2 separate regions of the Homo sapiens genome follow, and region 1 is linked to region 2. Evidence: promoter capture Hi-C in 16 types of primary human blood cells and fetal thymus (Javierre and others, 2016). All regions are on one chromosome and are shown on one strand. The core of a region is centred on a gene start or on the middle of the fragment in contact, and the rest is flanking DNA. Distances in the headings are between cores, read along the strand shown. Region 1 has its middle 19 kb from the start of MS4A2. Region 2 holds the start of CBLIF (cobalamin binding intrinsic factor).

Region 1 (7,397 bases), core at 59-2,558, 260 kb before region 2:
CTCTCTTCTGTATTCCAAACCCTTCCTTTAAAAAACCCTGCTTACCCTCCACAAATCGAAGAGTTGAATTGCTCTGTACTCTTCCCCTTACCTAGCACGGATAATAAAGGAATATCCTTCTTTCTTATCATAATGCATTATTATTTTAACGTCATTCCTTAAGAAAGAAGTTCAGTGAGCAGCCAGACCCTTTTTGCTGGTTACAAACATGGTGAATTAGCAGCCAAGGAGTTGCTTTATCCCCCTCAACAGGCTCACTCTTTTGGCAATTCTGATTTAATATGTTTGTTTTAGACATTGTGGTCAGACAAGTTTGGAAAACACTGCCATAACAGAGTCCTATATTTCTCCACACACATATCTTCAGGTACACCTTTCCCAACCACTGCCCCTCCTTCCCCCATGAATGTGGAACCCAAGCCTGCTCTGTCCTCCTCAAAGTCTCTACAGATACAATGGCATGCATTTATTTTTTATTTTTATTTTATTTATTTATTTATTTTGAGATGGAGTTTCACTCTTGTTGCCCAGGGTGGAGTGCAATGGCGTGATCGGCTCACTGGGTTCAAGCGGTTCGCCTGCCTCAGCCTCCCAAGTAGCTGGGATTACAGGCATGCTCCATCAAGCCCAGCTAATTTTGTATTTTTAGTAGAGATGGGGTTTCACCATGTTGGTCAGGCTGGTCTTGAACTCCCAACCTTAGGTCATCTGCCCTCCTCGGCCTCCCAAAATGCTGGGATTACAGGAGTGAGCCACCATGCCTGGCCATGCATTTATTTTCAATCTTGTCAATTAGTATGGTCAATCTTTTTTCGTTATTCTCCCTTTAGATTTATCTGAAGAGGAGAGAGATACCTGTGGGTCTGAGGCTCATGTATCACCTGGGATTTTAAATTCTCCTTGAGAAATTGCTGCATTTTGCTTTGAGGAGACAACATAATTCCAAATGTCTTGGTTATCCTTAACTGGGAATTTTGGTGTTTCTCAGACTGCTAATTTTCATCCTATTTATATTAGTTTGCTACGACTGCGATAACAAAGTACCACAGACTGGGTGGCTTAAACAATAAAAATTTATTTTTTCATAGTTCTGGAGGCTATAGCAAGCCTAAAATCAAGGCTTTAGCAGGGTTGGTTTCTTCTGAGGACTGTAAGGGAAGGATCTGTTCCAGGCCTCTCTTATTGGCTTATAAATGGCTGTTTTCTTTTTGTCTTCACATAGTCTTCCTTCTGTACATGTCTGTGTCCTGAACTCCTCTTCTTATAAGAATATTACTCATATTGAGTTAGGGTCCACCCTGAATATCTCATTTCAATTTAACTACTCTTTAAAGAACCTGTCTCCAAATATGTCACATTCTGAGGTCCTGGCGCTTAGGACTTCAACATATAAACTTTGAGGGGAACACAATTCAGGCCATAACACCTCTGGAAGCAAGAGTCTTTATTCTGTAATAAAACCTAAGATAATCAAGTGTGATACTCCATATTCAGAGTATCATCCTCCCTTCAGAGAGGAATTCTAAAAGAAGTAGACATCTTCCTAAAGCTACAAACTCTAATAGAAGATGAGCCCAAGATATCAGGTGATACCAGAGACCTGGAAATAGGTGATTTCCAGGGTCTGGAGTGTGAGGTGTAAAGAAGTTATTTCTTGTGTCTAGGTTTAAAAAAAAAATGGTTATGTAGAGATAGCTACATAGAACTGCACCACCAATTAATGCTCCATGTTTTCTATCTCAAGAACAAATACGTAATCATTTGGAAGATAGTATTCATTAATTTCACACCTCCCATGGCTAAGACAGACAGTTTAAGCCAAGTAGGAAGAGCACAGATACTAAAGTCAAGCCAGGCTGGGTTTAAATCCCAGGTCTATATTCTCGTGGCTAAGTGGCCTTGGGCAAATTGTTCTTATTTTTGTTATGTAAAGACGCTTACAGCTTTAAAAAAGGGTATTGCTTACCTCAAGAGTTTGTTTCATGGATTAAAATGAAGTAACACAAGTTAGGCTTTCAGCAGAAGGCTGGAGACATAATGGAAATTCAAGTAAGTTTGGCTTTATTCACTTTCTTTCTTTTTTTCGGGGGGTGGAGGGACGGAGTCTCACTCTGTCACTCAGGCTGGAGTGCAATGGCACCATCTCAGCTCACTGCAACCTCTGCCTCCCAGGTTCAAGTGATTCTCCTGCCTCAGCCTCCCAAGCAGCTGGGACTACAGGCACATGACACCACACCTGGCTAATTTTTGTATTTTTAGTAGAGGCAGGGTTTCACTATGTTGGCCAGGCTGGTCTTGAACTCCTGAGCTCGTGATCTGCCTAAAGGAGGAGACCAACCCTCATATTGTCTTATGCCCAATTTCTGCCTCCAGAGAAAAAAGAAGTAAAAACTAAAAGGCAGAAATGAAATTCACAAGCAGACAGCCCGGCGCCACACCCTAGGCCTGGTAGTTAAAACTGACCCTTGACCTAATCAGTTATCTATAGATTACAGACATTGTATAAAAAAGCACTGTGCAAATCCCTATCCTGTTTTGTTCTGATCTAATTACCAGTGCATGCAGCCCCCAGTCACATACCCCATGCTTGCTCAATCAATCACAACCCTCTCACTGCGCACCCCCTTAGAGTTGTGAGCCCTTAAAAGGCGCAGGAATTGCTCACTCAGGGAGCTCGGCTCTTGAGACGGGAGTCTTGCCAAAGCCCCTGGCTGAATAAACCCCTTCCTTTTTTAACTGGGTGTCTGAGGACTTTTGTCTGAGGCTTGTCCTGCTACATTTCTTGGTTCCCTGACCAGGAAGCGAGGTGATTGGTGGATGGTCCAGGCAGCTCAAGCTTGCCCTGTGGAACATCCCTGTGGGGGACTCCAACCAGCCCGAGCTACGTGGATCCTGAGAGTACCCTTGGGTAGGCATCTGCCCCGGTGGGACGCCTCGTCAGAGCAATGTGTGGCAGGTCCCCGTGGAGGATCAATGCAGTGGCTGAACACCGGGAAGGAACGGGCACTTGGAGTCTGGACATCTAAAACTTTGTAAGACTAATCTTTGAAACTTGCCCACTCCACTTGAGTAGAAGCGTGATCTGATCACCCATGGCATGCCTTTATTGGCACTTTGGTTTTGGTTTGAATTGCTTGACAGGACCAGTCTTAGGATCTTGCCCACTCCATTTGAGTAGAAGCGTGGCCTGATCACCCACGTTGTGCCTTTATCAGCACTTTGGTTTTAGTTTTGACTTGGTTTGAATTGCTTGACAGGACTGGTCTTAGGAACTTGCCCACTCCATTTGAGTAGAAGCATGGCCTGATCACCCGTGGTGTGCTTGTACTGGCACTTCAGTTTCTGTTTTTGACTTGACTTGGATTGCTTGATACTTTGGTTTTAGTTTTGACCTGGCTTGGATTTCTGGATACTCTAATTTTAGTTTTGATTTTGGTTTAGTGCAAACTGCAAAAGTGTGTGTATGCCCTTTTTACCCGTTCTTTGTTTTGTGGTGTGCATGTGGTGTGAGCGCAGTGTTTTGTCTGGAAGAAGCATAGTTCAGGCACAAATAAGACCACCCTACTAGGAACTATGTTGAAAACTTTCAAAAAGGATTTTAAAGGAGACTATAGAGTACTATGACACTAGGAAAACTTGAAACTTTGTGTGAGATAGACTGGCCAGCAGTAGAGGTAGGTGGGCCATTAGAAAGAAGCCTGGACAGGTCCCTTATTTCAAAGGTATGGCACAAGGAAACCAGACCAGTTCCCGTACAGAGACACTTAGTTACAGCTAGTTTTAGACCCCCTGCCCCTCAACACACAGTGGTTGAGAAAACAGCAGCATAAGCGGCTGGCAGAGGCAAGGAAAGACCAGCAGAGAGAGAGAAAGGAAAGAGACAGAGAGGAAAAGAGGCAAAGAGAGAGAGGAATAGACAGAAAAAGAAGGAGTCAAGGAGACAGAGAAAAAGAGAGGCAGAGAAAAAGAAGAGACAGAGGCAAAAGGAAAGTCAAAGAGAAAGAGACAAAGTCAAAGAGAAAAAAAAAGAAAGAGATATACAAGTAGTTAAGAAAAAAAAGTGTACCCTATTCCTTTAAAAGACAAGGTAAATTTAAAACCTATAATTGATCATTGAAGGTATTCTCTGTAACCCTATAACACTCCAATACCACCTTGTTGTCACTGTAAACAAGGACATATCCCAAAAGCACTGAGTCCTTCCTATCAAAAATCCTTAACTCAGTAACCCGCAGATGGCCCAAATGCATTCAGTCTGTAGTGGCAACTGCTTTGCTAACAACAACAACAAAAAAAAGGTTAAAAAAAAAAAAAACTTTTAGAGAAAACTTCATTGTGAGCACACCTCACCAGTTCAGAAGTATCCTAAGGAAAAAAAAAAAAGGAGAAAAAAGGAAGGGTGAAATTTATATAAAAAGAGTATTATATGGTAAATTCTTGTCCTGAAATAAATTAACTGGTTGTTTAAAGAAAAAAATATTTGTAATAAGTGAGAAAGTTGAGGCATGTCAAAGAATTGTCTGTGGAAAGTCATGGAAGAGAAAAATGTTATAAAAAACATTTATGCAAAAAATATTGTATAATTTAAAAGTAACTAGGCCTCCTAAATGTAAAACTATTGAAAAAAAAAAACAGTTTATGTGCAAGGTGTATAAGAAAAGTAAATGTACATTTTTACCTACATTAAAAAGTTAAAAAAATTATTGAAGGTTTAAGCAAGTTTTAAAACGTTAAATGTAAAGAAAATTCTGTGTGTAACCATATTAGCTAAAATTAAAGAAGTATCATCCAGTTTTTCTGTCAACTGGACATTAAAGTAAAAGCCTAACAGGTTTTTCTTAAAGCACCAACCTGCTCTTTAGCAAAAATTATAAAAGATTAAAAAGAGTCTATAAAATCTTACCTTTTGGTCAAACATTAAAAATTAGATAAAGATGTCTACAAAGTTTTATTAAAATTAGGTTTAACATTAATAACACCCTAATATAAAGATAAAATTTAGCTTATCTGGTATAAAAATCATACAAGAAGCATTGTTAAAGTAAAATGGTATTTGGCTTTCTTTGGTTTAAAAATTAATAAAAATAGGTGCTAAAAGAAATTTCTCAGTAAAAAGGCACTAAGGACTATAAAGTCCACTGCCAAGGTCCCCACATTTAAAACAAAAGATCAATTTCTTAAAAATTATATACTTGGTTTATCTTCCACTTTCCTTTCTCTCAAAATCTAAAAGTCTTTTAGCACATGTACCACCCCTAGAATTTCCGGTAAACCAGCACCAGCCTGGAGTTCACATTCTCATCAAAAGGTGGAAAGAAAAAAAACTCGAGCCAGCCTGGGAAGGACCTTACCTTGTGCTGCTAACCACCAAGACTGCTGTTCACACAGCAAAAAAAAAAAAAAAAAAAAAGGATGGACTCATCACACCCAAGTCAAGAAAGCCCCATCCCCTCCAGAGTCGTAGTTCATAATCCCAGGGGAAAATCCTACCAAACTAAAGCTAAGAAAAATTTAACTCTTTTCATCTATTCTATTACTCTTTCTTCTTTCCGCATTCTATTGCTGACCATCTAGTTATTAACATAACCAAGTCAATTTCATCTCAAACTATTGCATTTAATGCTTGCCTTGTTATACCCTGTGAGGACTTGCCAAGTCAAAGACAGTTTTCTACTTCAGAAAAGTACAAGTCAAAGACAGTTTTCTACTTCAGAAAAGTACTTCTGTCCCTCCTGACTCTCCTCAGACTAGGCATTAGTAAACTAGGACCATTTAATCAAGGGAGATTTTGATAAAGACCCCATTGCCAACCAAGAGTCTTGCCCCCCGATGTAGAGCTTTTATGCCATAGTTGGTCCAACATTCACTAAAGAGCAATCATAGACTGCCTCAACCGGGTTTTGTAATTTGCTAAAACCATACATTCATTTTACTAGAGCATCATAGAAGTTAAAGACTTAAAACAAACTTTAGCAATTAAGACAAGATACCAAGATGCAAATGCCTGGTTAAAATGGATCAAATATTCCATCTGCACATTAAACAAAAGCAATTGTTATGCTTGTGCACATGGCAGGCCACAGGCCCAGATTGTCCCTTTTCTACTAAGGTGGTCCTCCAGTCGACCAGGTGTAGGCTGCATGGTAGCTCATTTCCAGGATTCTACAACCTGGAGTAATAAGTCATGTCAAGCTCTCTCTGCTATATCCCAAAGTCCGGCACCCTGCGGATCAGTCCCCGAGGGCCATCCAACCTCCGTCTCCCAACACTAAGTTCACTTCGTCACTCTCATGACACAGAGGAAACTTAGTGTTTCTTGGAGACCTGAAAGGATGCAGTGAGCTTAAGAATTTTCAAGAGCTTATCAATCAGTCAGCCCTTGTTCATCCCCGAGTGGATGTGTGGTGATATTGTGGTAGACTTTTACTAGGCACTCTGCCAAATAACTGGAGTGGCACTTGTACTTTAGTCCAATTGGCTATCCCTTTCACCCTGGCATTTCATCAACCAGAAGAAAAAAAAAATCAGACATTGTAAAGCGAGAGAAGCCCCTTATAGGTCTTTCAACTCTCATGTCTATTTAAATGCAACTGGAGTCCCACAATGAACACCAGATGAATTTAAAGCTTGAAATCAAATAGCTGCAGGATTTGAGTCAATATTTTAGTAGGTGACAGGTAATAAAAATGTAGATTAGATAAACTACATCTATTACAACCAACATCAATGAGCTTTTCATAAGTTAAAAAGAAAAACTCATGTCGGCCCCAGCCCTGAGGCTACCTGACCTGACAAAACTCTTTACACTCTATGTGTCAGAAAAATAAAAAATGGCAATTGGAGTTTTAACCCAGACTGTAAGGCCCTGGACAAGGCCAGTGGCCTATCTCTCAAAACAACTAGAGCAAGTTTCCAGAGGGTAGCCCCCACGGTCTAAGAGCCCTAGCAGCCATGGCCCTGTTAGCACAAGAAGCAAATAAACTAACCCTTAGGCAAAACCTGAATATAAAGGCCCCCTATGCTGTAGTAACTTTAATGACTACCAAAGGACATCATTAGTTAACAAATGCTAGATTAACCAAGTACCAAAGCTTGCTATGTGAAAATCCCCCATAACCATTAAAGTTTCCAACACCCTAAACCCTGCCACCTTGCCCCCGGTATCAGATTGCCCAGTTGAACATAACTGTGTAGAGGTGTTGGACTCAGTTTATTCTAGCAGGCCCAACCTCCAAGACCATCCTTAAACAGAAGTAGACTGTGGATGGGAGCAGCTTCACCACCCCTGCAAAGTGACTCTGAAGAAGACGACAAGCCCTGCTCCAGTCACACCCGGAAGCTGACTGGTCCACGCACGGCCAAAGCATGAGAAAACTCATCACAGTACTCTTTTTCCT
Region 2 (6,743 bases), core at 1,490-3,989:
ACACAGGAAGGGGAACATCACACTCTGGGGACTGTTGTGGGGTGGGGGGATGGGGGAGGGATAGCATTAGGAGATATACCTAATGCTAAATGATGAGTTAACGGGTGCAGCACGCCAGCATGGCACATGTATACACATGTAACTAACCTGCACATTGTGCACATGTACCCTAAAACTTAAAGTATAATTAAAAAAAAAAGAAAAAAAAGGAACAGGGACAATCTTAAAAAAAAAAAAAAGGCTAAGGGAAAACAACAGTTTAAGAAAATAAGAAGCCCTCCCAGCTATTTCCGTAGGGCTCCCCTAGTAACAGAGCTTGTGAAGAAGAATCCATTTCCTTGCCTTTTCCAGCTTCTGGAGGCTGCCCACGTTGCATGGCTCATGGCCCCTGTCCACCTACAAAGCCAGCAATTGCATCATTCTGACTTCTGCCTCTAACATCACATTTGCTTTTCTGATTCTAACGCTCTTGCCTTCCTCTGCCACTAACAAGGACCTCTGTGATGACATTGAGCCCACCCAGATGATCCAAGCTAACCTTCCTCTCTTAAAGTCAGCTCATTAGCCACCTTAATTCCATGTGCATCTTTAATTCTTCCTGGCCATATAACCCACGTAACATGTTCACAAGTTCCAGGGATTAGGGCATGGGCATTTGGCGGTGTGTGGGCAGTGCCATTATTCTGCCTCCTACTCCTTCACACAGCATGCAAGGCTGTCCACCAAGTAGATGCCAACTGTCTTTCCAGCCTCATCTTCCACCATGTACCATGTATTGGATATATATTGCTGCATAACAAGTGACTTTAAAACTTAGGGGCCTAAGACAACATTTATTATCCCACAGTTTCTGTGGGTCAGGAGTCCAGGGAGGGTTTACATGGGTCCTCTGGCTTAGGAGGGTCTCTCCCAGGGCTGCAATCAAGATGTCAGCTGGGGCTGCCTTCATCTCAAAGCTCACTGGGGAAGGGTTCTTTTCTCCCTGAATATCGGCTGGAGGCTACTCTCAGGGGCCATATGTGGGCTTCTCCATAAGGCAGCTCACACTTAGCAGCTGCCTTCATGAGAGCAGGAAGGGCAAGAGAGAGAAGGCAAGCAAGAGGGAAATCGGTCTTTTGCAACCACATCCCATCACCTTTGCTGCATTATATTCATTATAATAGAATGTGGCCCCAGGCCAGCCCACACTCTAGGGAAGAGGACTACACAAGGCATGAATACCGGGAGGTGAAAACACAGGGCCATGTTAGAAGTTGTCCAGCACACCCCAGTATGTACCCTGTGCTCTCATCTCACAAAACTCACCCATGTTTCCCAAGGGGGAAAAAATGCTTTATTACCCATGTCTTACATTTGCTCATTAATTCACTCATTCAAAAAGTATTTTATTTCTACTGTGAGCTAGGTAGTGTTGTAAGGGCTAAGGATAGAGCAGTGAGCCAAAGAGACAAAGCCCCTCCCTCGTGGAGCAGACATTCTAGTAGGGAGATAAACAAACGATAAACAACCACACACTTAGTGCGACAGAGGGCAATGAGTTATAGCAGGCGAGGGGCATGAGGGGTGTCAGTGGAGGTGAGGATGTAGGATCTTATGTAGGGTGGCCTGGGAAGGCGTCTCTAAAAGCTTACCTCTGAGCAGAGACATGAAGGATGTGAGGAAGCCACCATGAGGCTATTTAAAAGAAGAGGGTCCTGGGCTGAGGGGGACATCATGTGCAAAGGTAGCTGATGTGTTCAAGGGGCACAAGAAGTTCTGTGTGATGGGAGCGGTGTGAGCAAAGGGGAAAACGCCTGGAGCTGAGGTCAGAAAGGAAACCAGGAGCCAGATCTTCTAAGGTCTTATAGGTCATGAAAAGGGCTTTGACTTTTATGCTAAGATGGGCGCCACTGGAGAATATCCCCTTAAAATGAGCTACTTTACATGCAGGAAAAAAACAAACAAAACTCCTTTCTTTATAATTTCAACATACCATTTTCAGTTCTCCCTTATAAAGAAGTATAATTTGCATTATAATGTAGCTACACATCTGAAATATGTATTCTTAATGGATCTCACATTTTCTAATTACTTACTTTAAAAGATAATATCTGAAAGCTTTGGGTGTTTGAGATGGCTTTTATCTCCAGATAAGGAAAGAGAAATCAAACAAAACCATTTCTGGGAAACCGAGGTCCATTTCTTGCCTAAAGTCAAACAACTTCAAAGAGTCTAGGCTAGAATCCAGGTCCAGGTAGACATCATTAATTTCACAAAGCCAGATGTCACCTGGCAGATCCCTGCCTGAGAGCCTAAAAGGACATGTTGTAAAGCAGGTGTCTAGGATCATAAAATGAGCTGATGCCTATGAATGGCCTAAATCCCAGTGAAGTAGTTACTAAAAAGCAGCCTGGTAACTGATTGGATACAATAAGGGCTAGAAGAGGTCTTGTTGATACTAGCACATTATCCAAACTTCCTGATGTCTGACCCAGGCCTTTGGTAAAGGACATTTTCTCAACATTGCCTTCACTGCATACCCAGCCCCAGGTTTCTCATATGACTGTGCAACCTAGAAGTCACCTTCAGACACCTTGGAGGGTCTATAGTCGGTAAACTTAGATAAGCAAATGAAAATTTACTTACTTGTATCAGGAAAGGAGAGGTCAGCACAGGGGCAGTTAGGAGAGGCTGGGTTGGGGACAGATTATTTAACAAAGGGAAGCACATATAAGAGAAGGTAAAGAAATATTCCACTTGCAAATCGCGGTACCTGTGGATGAGAGACATAGACGAGAGAGTGAGATGGCCTGGTTTGCCCTCTACCTCCTGAGCCTTCTCTGGGCTACAGCTGGGACTAGTACCCAGACCCAGAGTTCATGCTGTGAGTATGATGTTTTTCCAAGGAGGTCAGGGAAGCAGTTGCCCTGGGGAAGGGGCTGTGACCTCTGACACTGAGTGGTTGAAAATAGCAATCACTATAGGAATTCCAAAATGGGTAAGTCTGAGTGTGATTGTGTGCTGTTCATCCTTCCTGACTTAATAGCATAAGTTCTTTGAGAGACAAGTCTATATGTTTTTTATTAAGAGAGATGGGGCCAGGTGCAGTGGCTCACACCTGTAATCCCAGCACTTTGGGAGACTGAAGCAGGAGGATTGCTTGAGCCCAAGAGTTCAAGACCAGCCTGGGCAACATGGTGAGACTCCATCTCTACAAAAAAAATAAATAAATAAAAATAAAAAATTAGCTGGGCGCAGTGGCATGCACCTGTGGTCCCAGCTACTCAGAAAGCTGAGGTAGGAGAATCGCTTGAGCCCAGGAGGTCGAGGCTGCAGTGAGCTATAATCACACCACTGCACTCCAGCCTAGATGACACAGCAGCACCCTGTCTCAAAAAATCAATAAATAAAAATAATAGAGATGGAAGTACTACTGCAGGAATAATGGTTGATGGTACAAAGACAGACACTCAGTGGCTATTGTGACCAGACACCACTACATACTAGTGAGAGATTTTGGTACTCACTGAGGATAAATTATATCCCAAATCTTTAATACTCTTCATGAAAGAGTAAGGAAAAAAATGAATGCAAGGAAATCAGTGATTTCCAGGAAAGTGATAGAAACTATGAGAAATGTCATGAGCCATATTGCTTGAAGTTACTAAATTTAAAAATCACTTTCTTAAGGATATGGATTATTTGAGAAGATGTAGAAACTAATTGTCCTCAAAAGTAAAATCTCACCATTTTCTCCATTTCTCTTTAGTGACTTAGGACACTAATGCTAATCAAGTGTTCTCCTAAAAGGCATCAAAGATGGCCAGGCGAGGTGGCTCACGCCTGTAATCCCAGCACTTTGGGAGGCCAAGAAGGGTGGATTACCTGAGGTCAGAAATTCGAGACTACCCTGGCCAACATGGTGAAACCCCATCTCTACTAAAAATACAAAAATTAGCCTGGCGTGGTGGTGCACACCTGTAATCCCAGCTACTCAGGAAGCTGAGGCAGGAGAATCACTTGAACCTGGGAGGCAGAGTTTGCAGTGAGCCGAGATCGTGCCATTGCACTCTAGCCTGGGCAACAAGAGTAACACTGTCTCAAAAAAAAAAGAAAGAAAGAAAAAGCATCAAAGACACGGGGATAATGTTTTTGAGAAGGAATGAGGGTTAGAAGGTGAGTAAATGGCTTTCCTCTTCTCAGCCGTTCCCTCAGCACAGGAGCCCTTGGTCAATGGAATACAAGTACTCATGGAGAACTCGGTGACTTCATCAGCCTACCCAAACCCCAGCATCCTGATTGCCATGAATCTGGCCGGAGCCTACAACTTGAAGGCCCAGAAGCTCCTGACTTACCAGCTCATGTCCAGCGACAACAACGGTGAGACATCTGAGCCGCTCGCACTCTCCCTGAATCTCACACATCACATACCACCTCCAGATTCCAACTCAGCGTCCTTCCCACCCCAATGCTGCCTCTGACTGTAAATAAACTACCCAAACACCTTTCCTTACATACCTGGAAGGTACCTGGAAAGAAACATGTGTGAAGTCAGAGCATTCATGGAGGAGGTCAGTAAAGCAGGGAGAGCTCTGGACTAGACGTCGAAAGAGCAGCCTTCTGGTTCTGGCTCTGCCACGTCATAACTCTGGGATCTGAGACAAGTCACTGGATACTGCTCAGCCTCACCTTGCAGATGATTGTAGTAACAATAACCCTACTACTACTAATAGCAATGATAATAATAATAAAATCTCTGTTCTGCCTATCTCCCAGGAGCTGCCTGCAGGCTCAAGTTAGATAAAGTTTAAATTATTTTGCAACTGTAAATTTCTGTATATAAATCTATATGAGTATTTTGCTGCTTTTCTAATCAAATACCAGGGATTCTCAAATACCAAATACTAGAGTCATCAAGTTACACAGAGGCCACTAGATTAAATATTCCCTTACGTATTCTTCCATATTTTTTTCTTTGGAAAGACAGATCAAAGAACTGCTCATATTATTAAAAAGTCAAAATGCTCTAGATAAAAAGCAGAGAACTCATCACTGGCTCCTGGAGAGCTGTCCCCTGAGGATGTCTCTGTCTAACCGTTGTGTTCTCTTCTCTGCAGATCTAACCATTGGGCAGCTCGGCCTCACCATCATGGCCCTCACCTCCTCCTGCCGAGACCCTGGGGATAAAGTATCCATTCTACAAAGACAAATGGAGAACTGGGCACCTTCCAGTAAGACCTGACTGGAAGGGAGAAAAGAGTCAGGCATATGGTTTTACCTAAGAATTTTAAACCCAGAAAGGAAAAGGGTGGGGGTGGAGAGAAAGGCAAGTTAGGGAAGAGACAATGTATCCTTCACTCTGGTCCTTCTGATAATCCAGACCAGAAAGATTCATTTCCAATCCAAAATGAACTAGAAAAGGTCATGATCCCAAGGACACAAGCTTGTCCAGCCATCACCTGTCTAAAGACACAGAGTCATCCCTTTTATTCTTTGCAGATGCCTGATGACATTCTTTTGAAAAACACTGAAGTTGCTCTTTGCCTATGCTGTGTCTCTCTTTGGGGGCAGGTTTTCTAGCAATTTCCTTTTCAAAGGCTTGGCTTTTCCTTCTTTGCAAATGTCCTCATCGTGGTGACTGTGAGTCTGATGAAGGTTCTCTATCCCCTTCGGAGGCCCCAACGCTGAAGCATCAGCCTTCTATGGGCCCAGTCTAGCGATCTTGGCACTGTGCCAGAAGAACTCTGAGGCGACCTTGCCGATAGCCGTCCGCTTTGCCAAGACCCTGCTGGCCAACTCCTCTCCCTTCAATGTAGGTGAGTAGGTCACCACTACCCCGAGCTGGGAACATCAGAGGCATCGTGAACTGAATGGTGGAGCTGGCAGGGAAGTGACAAAGGAGAGCGTCCCATGGAGGAGGAGCTAAGGATGTGAACGTGCCTGTGGATGGGAGATATTTACCAGATGTTTGTTGGGCAGGTGAATTGAGGAGTAAGTGAAGGAAGAGGGGGTAGTATTATGTAGAAACAAGGACAATTGATAATACTTGATATGTCTGGCAGCTACAGAATCTCCGCTGGGAACAATAGTAATGCCATTCAAGTCAGAAGTTCTTCCCAAATTAAATATGAATGTCTTGCTTCAGTTCTCCTCTGCATCCTCTCTTTAATCACTACTGATGCTCCCACACTCCATTCTTTTCGATGCTTCTCCTCATTACATCCAAATATCCTCTCTCCATTAAACAGCTACTCTCGGAACCCTAACTCGTGATATTTCCCTTCATGGCAACTCGGGGACCACCTTGCGTCTTTGTTCTGCAAGCATATGGCTGCTTGTGAATAGAAGCTTTTCCCTCTACAACATCATGTCCTCCTTCTGTCCCCTTCTATGGATAATGATCCTTCTCTGTGGGGGCCACTGTCACAGCCCGCATTCATGATCACCTTTTCTCCTCTGCCAACTCTCTAAGCAATAGTATTATCTCAGGTTTTCACTCCCTTATGCATGCCCCATCAGCAACCTCTCTTGTTTCAGTTTCTGTCAGACAAACAGGTGAACCACTGCTCTAGGATCCTCCCTGGGGGTTAAGAACAGACTGGTCTCCCTTTCACATCTGGGACCTCACACATTTCTGGGGCATCTCTGCCTCCAAAAATTTGGACTTATTTACTTCTGGTTGTCAGTAACACTAGCACCCTTAACGAAGTTATGCAACTTTCAAATGGAGATTTGGCCCTGCTGCTTACTTAATTTTTCTGAGC

What was found. The method cuts DNA at HindIII sites, captures the fragments that hold promoters and counts their contacts. A CHiCAGO score of 5 or more calls a contact.
Region 1: a contact is called between a fragment that was not itself captured here and the fragment with the promoter of CBLIF in region 2, in 1 of 17 cell types (erythroblasts). The highest score is 5.3, in erythroblasts.

The regions. Positions count from the first base shown.
Region 1 is chr11:60,103,897-60,111,293 of GRCh38, reverse strand. No RefSeq gene overlaps it. Among named protein-coding and RNA genes, the nearest start is that of MS4A2, 19 kb to the right of the region's middle. The HindIII fragment of the contact is 3,060 bases long and covers 1-2,838 here.
Region 2 is chr11:59,841,495-59,848,237 of GRCh38, reverse strand. It overlaps CBLIF (cobalamin binding intrinsic factor), which reads left to right and starts at 2,739. Exons shown (of 9, transcript NM_005142.3): 1 at 2,739-2,863; 2 at 4,183-4,359; 3 at 5,097-5,210; 4 at 5,655-5,795. The coding sequence starts at 2,785. The HindIII fragment of the contact is 3,325 bases long and covers 2,100-5,424 here.